2 separate regions of the Homo sapiens genome follow, and region 2 is linked to region 1. The links are contacts of gene promoters, found by promoter capture Hi-C in human tissues and cell types (Jung and others, 2019). All regions are on one chromosome and are shown on one strand. The core of a region is centred on a gene start or on the middle of the fragment in contact, and the rest is flanking DNA. Distances in the headings are between cores, read along the strand shown.

Region 1 (2,892 bases), core at 230-2,729:
GGCATGATCTCAGCTCACTGCAACCTCTGCTTCCTGAGTTCAAGCGATTCTTGTGCCTCAGCCTCCCGAGTAGCTGGGATTACAGGCATGCACCACCACGCCTGGCTAATTTTTGTATTTTTAGTAGAGACAGGTTTCACCATGCTGACCAGGCTGGTCTCGAACTCCTGACCTCAAGCGATCTGCCTGCCTCAGCCTTCCAAAGTGCCGGGATTAGAGGTATTAGCCACCGTGCCTGGCCAAGATCTAATATTTAATAACACAACAAGGGGATTGTAGTCAACAATAATTTATTGTATATTTTGAAATAATTAAAGGAGTGGAATTGGAATGTTTCTAACACAAGGGATTGATAAATGCTTGAGGCAATGGATACCCCAGTTATCCTGATGTGATTGATATGAATCATATAGCTGTATTAAAACATCCCATGTACTCCAGAAATATACATGCCTTCTATGTACCCACAATAAAAATGACAATTTTTAAAAATAGCAATAATAAATTTAAAAATGCAAAAAAATTACTTGCCTAGATCAATGCCATGAATTTCCCTTATGTTTTATTCTATGAATCTCATAGTTTTGAGCCTTTCATTTATGTCTTTTTTTCTATTTTAAAATTATTTTTCTATGTAGTGACAGATAGGGATCTAATTCCATTTCTCTTGAATGTGGATATCCAGTTTTCCTACCACCATTTATTGAAGAGCTTGTCTTTTTCCAATGTGTGTTCTTGGCACCTTTGTCAAAAATGAGTTGGCTGTAAATGCATGAATTTATTTCTGGGTTTACTCTTCTGTTCCATTGGTCTATGTGTATGCTTTTTGATGATGAAAGGAATAAGTTCTACAGTTAGATGAAAGGAATAAGATCTACTGTTCCACAGCACAATAGAATGACTATACTTAATAATTTATTATATATTTCCAAATAGCTAGAAGAGAAGATACGAGTGTTTCCAATACAAAGAAATGATAAATGTTTGAGAGGGCAGGTATGCCAGTTACCCATATTTGATCATTATGCGTTGTATGCTTATATCAAAGTATCACATGTACCCCATAAATATGTGCAACTATTATGTATTTATAAAAAATTTTTAAAAATTTAGAATGACTTTATAGGCTTTTCAAGGTCCAACAGCAGGTACAGAGTAGATGCAAAACTCCAAACTTTTTTTTGTGATGATAGATGTTTCACATTACAAAACAGGTAAATGAGAGGTGGAAGAGCAACATCAGTCTCATCTCATCACCAGTGATAACCATTCATTTAAGAACAAAAATGAGACATGCCAAGTTTTTTACATACATTGCTTTGCATTTACTACAATTTACACATGTCTTTCACAATTGCATCTTTAACCGCCCCCCGCTTTTGTTGGACTTTGTGTGATTCCTTTTGTGAAGTGTGGGTTTATTCCCTTTCTTCATTTTCTCTTGGGGTCTTCAATCTGTAAGATGTCTTGACCCTATAAAGATATCACTTTTATTAATTATGAATTATTCTGGGCATCGGGGTCTATAACCAGGATTGAACATTGCCAGAAACGAGGAAGCTGTTTTCGTCACAGTCTCTCATCAACCACCTGTGTACATCATGCCTATTTCATGCATCTCTTTGTTTATTCAGCAAATTCTCATGTATTTTGTTAAATACCAGGCACAAAGTGATGATATAAAATGGAGCCCCACATTTACATGTGCATGGGAAGCTTTTGGGCTGGAATTTGCTGCCCTGTTTACGTCCTTAGGGGGCCACATTAATAGAGGGCTCAGAACCACATGGGGAGACGAGGCTGTCAGTGTCTTGAAGTTTCAACAGCAGCAGGGAGACCACCTGGTTCCTCAATACTCCTGACACCATCTCTGATCACTCTCCCTCCTTCTCATTGCCCTCAACACGCTGGCTTCTATTTGAGCCTTGATTTTCCGAAACAAGCACCTTCCTCAGGCCTTTGCATTAGTCATTCCCTCTGTCAGGCACAGACTTCGCCAAATATCCTCTGGGCTCCCAACCGCCTCTTCCTTGAGGTCTCTGTTCAAATGTCACCTTGTCTGCTGGTCTTGCCTGTACACTCATAAAAAATAGCAACCCCTCTCCATTCTCTTTAATGTGCTTTCATTTTCTTCTAAGCACCATCTAACGCAACAGATGATGATGTCTTTATCAGCTCATTGTCTTTCTCCATCATTGGATAGTAAGGTTATCAGTTTCTCTGCACCCTACACTCATTACCTAGACAGTTCCTGGAACATGGTCAGCATACAATCAATATTACACAAGTGCGTAGAAGAATTTCTCATTAAAGAATATACAACCTCTTAGGGAAAGGTTGAGAATAGCACAAGAATTTTCAATCAGAGACAGCTCTGAGGAGCACAGAAACTGGGAAAAGTTCCATACACAAAATATAGAAATTAATGTCTTGGCTGCAAAATATAACTGGTTGTCTTTCAACAATGTGAGTGATGCCCTTTTGAGTAAAAATTGGTCATGTTCTCTTTCTCTGACTGGTAGTCACCTCAACCACATGGAACCAGAGAATGGTACGAGGATTTTAGGATTTCTTCTTCTGGGACTTTCAGAGGAACCAGAATTGCAGCCCGTTATGTTTGGACTCTTCCTCTCCATGTATCTGACAACTGTGTTTGGAAACCTGCTCATCATCCTGGCCATCTGCTCTGGTTCCCACCTCCACACCCCCATGTACTTCTTCCTCTCTAACCTGTCCTTTGTAGACATCTGTGTTACCTCCACCACAGTCCCAAAGACACTGTCAAACATCCGGACACAGAGTAAAGTCATCACCTATGCAGGTTGCATCACCCAGATGTACTTTTTTGTACTCTTTATAGTGTTGGACAGCTTACTCTTGACCGTGATGGCC
Region 2 (2,892 bases), core at 257-2,756, 140 kb before region 1:
CTATTAATCAGTCATCCCATCCACCCATCCTTCCACCCGCACATCTATCTAGTCATCCATCAATCCAATTTAACATCCATCCTTTTATTCATCAACCCATCCACCAATTTATCTTTCCACTTACCTATCTATCCACTCATCCATCCATCCATCCACCCACTCACACATCTATTCATCCGTCTGTCTACCCATCTATTAATCAGTCATCCCATATACCCATTCATTCTTCCATCAACCCATTTATCTACCCATCCATCTATCTATCCATCCACTTATTCATCCAACCACTCATTCATTCATCCATCCATCCATCCATTCATCCATTATCTCTCTCTGTCTTCCATCCCTCCATCTATTCTATCTTCCAACTATCCCTCCATCTAGCCCTCCTTCTATCCATTCCTTCATCCATCATCTCTATCTTCCATCTATCCATCCACCTATTTACTTATCCATCTACCCACCCACCCATCCATCCATCCATCCATCAATCCATCCACCCACCCACCCACCTACCCAGCAAATATTTTCTGGGTATCTATTATGTGTTATGCACTTAGAATCCATTAAGTAAGACAGACATGCTCCCTGACTTTCTGTCCTTCTGTAGCTCTAGTCTGTGACAGAAATGAATATTAAATCTCTCTCTCTCTCTCTCTCTCTCACACACACACACTCACACACACACACAGCAAGTGCTGTGACGAAAGAGGAGCCAAAGATTGTGAGGGAGGAAGTGGAAGGAGCATAGCCCTGGAGCCAGAACCGAATCCTGCCTCAGTCCCTTCCCAGCTGTGTGACCTTCGGCATCTCACTCTCCTCTCTGAGACTCGATTTTCCCATCCGCAAAGGACCTGGGGAGAGCTCTAGGTGCTTAACAGCAATGGTGACCCAGGTAGGTTTTAGGATCCCTCTTGACCTCCTGGAACTTTCCTCTTCCTTCTCTGGACTCTCACAGCTCTGCTTGCTCCTACTTGAATTACAGCAGTGTTTTTGATTCTTACTCTCATGGCTGAACTGGCAGCTCAGTTTTCAGGACTGAAAGCCTGACTTCATTATCTCTGTCTCCATCATGGCCAACAGTGTGGCAGGGAGCACAGAGGTGGTGTTGGAGAGAATTTGCTGAGTAAACAAATAAGAAAAAAATGAACAGATGAAAAGAAAGAGGGGATGGATGGAAATTTCTTCCATTCTGCCAAAACTGGCCAGAGCATTAATTCATGAAGGGAGAGGGAGCGTATGTGTGTATGTGCGTGTGTGTGTGTGTGTGTGTGTGTGTGTGTGTGTGAGAGAGAGAGAGAGAGAGAGAGAGAGAGGCTAATATCCACCAAATCACTTACCAACTCTAGAGGCAGCTGTTCCTCAAGGCCAAGTTCAATCTCACTACTCTCCTAGTTGCCAATACTGAGCTGGGCACCGAGGAGGAGTCAGGCCCACGTACTGATCTTGGAGAAGGGGCTGACAGTGTGGAATCTCCCGGGGTTTCTCCTGAGAAGCCTGGTCTATGAATCGGGTGGCACAATCACCTGGCCCTTTATTGTCGGTGAGTTTTCTGTCACTCAAGAAACCTCATGACACACCCTTGGCACACAGCTGTGGTGTGGAAATGGAGCCAACGCCAATGGGATGAGTGATCGCAAGGCTGAGGGGACTCCCTCTGGCAAAGGTGGCCTAGGCAGAGAGTCTAAATGAGTCAGATGTCTGTGCCAGCCCAGCCACAACCTCTCCCAACCCCCATCCCATAGCCAGCCCATCTGGTTATTACCATCATCATTATGCCTAGTTTATTCATCTCACCTTCCACTGTGTAGATAACACCGACTTCACTTAGTTATTATCTCATCGAGTCTTCAAGAGTCTAGACAGATCAGTATTTTTGCTCCCATTTTGCAGATGGAGAAACTGAGGCTCATAGAGGTGAAATGACTGCCCAAGGTCAGCAATTGGCACAGTTGGCATTCAACCCTATAAGGGGTGAGGTGTGGTGGGTCACGTCTGTAGTCCCAGCGCTTTGGGAGGCCAAGGCAGGAGGATCGCTTGAGGTGAGGAGTTTGAGACCAGCCGGGGCATAGTGAGACCCTGTCACTAAAATAATAATAATAATAAAAATGATGGCATATACCTATAGTCCTAGCTACTCAGGAGGCTGAGGTAGGAGGCTGGCTTGAGCCTAGGAGTTTGAGGCTGCAGCGAGCTAAGATTGTGCCTCTGCACTCCAGCCTGGGTGACAGAGCAAGACTCTGTCTTAAATATAAAAACAAACAAACAACCCCTAAAATGTTCCAGCCCAGTTGCCTTAACTGATGCATCATGATGATTCCTCTCTTCCTCCTCCTCTTATTATTTTTCAGCCATTTTGTTTCATTTTATTTCTTATGTTAATAGTGAAACCAAAGGCGAACCTGATTAAGCCCTCCAGACTTAATCTGCCTTGCGTTTAATTGCTTACTTACTTTTAATTGCTTACTTATAGTTGATCTTAAAAGCGCCACTAGCAAGTCACGTAGCCAAATAATGCATAACTAAACTCCCACTGGCTTCCTTACAGATAACATTTTTGTCTGTGGGACACTATAGTAATGGGTGCTTAAAGTTGTTTTTCAGGAACTAGGTAGGAGGCAGCTCTTGTTTAGTTTAAGCCAGTGGAGATCACTGACCCTTCAACTGCACCTATGTGGGTAGCTGATATCAGAGGGCCGTAAACTCCACCTTCAGATCATGCTAAATGCTATTTTTTGCACAAATGTCCTATCTAAAGCCATGTAGCTCAACCATGCTTGCTCAGAAATTCTGATTACCTCACCTTCCCTACCTGCCAGTCACCTTTCTCCGTACTTTAGATCACCCCGTTTTCTATCCCATAAGCACCCTCAAACCCTATTTTTGGGGAGG

Evidence for each region. The method cuts DNA at HindIII sites, captures the fragments that hold promoters and counts their contacts. A contact is called where the count stands out against the background at its distance.
Region 2: the fragment with the promoter of CASP14 here is called in contact with a fragment that was not itself captured in region 1 in 2 of the 25 tissues and cell types used here (lymphoblastoid cells and mesendoderm cells).

The regions. Positions count from the first base shown.
Region 1 is chr19:14,903,817-14,906,708 of GRCh38, reverse strand. It overlaps the pseudogene OR7A3P. Among named protein-coding and RNA genes, the nearest start is that of OR7A17, 19 kb to the right of the region's middle. The HindIII fragment of the contact is 6,964 bases long and covers 1-2,892 here.
Region 2 is chr19:15,048,094-15,050,985 of GRCh38, reverse strand. CASP14 (caspase 14) reads right to left here and starts at 1,506. Exons shown (of 7, transcript NM_012114.3): 1 at 1,341-1,506. The HindIII fragment of the contact is 29,360 bases long and covers 1-2,892 here.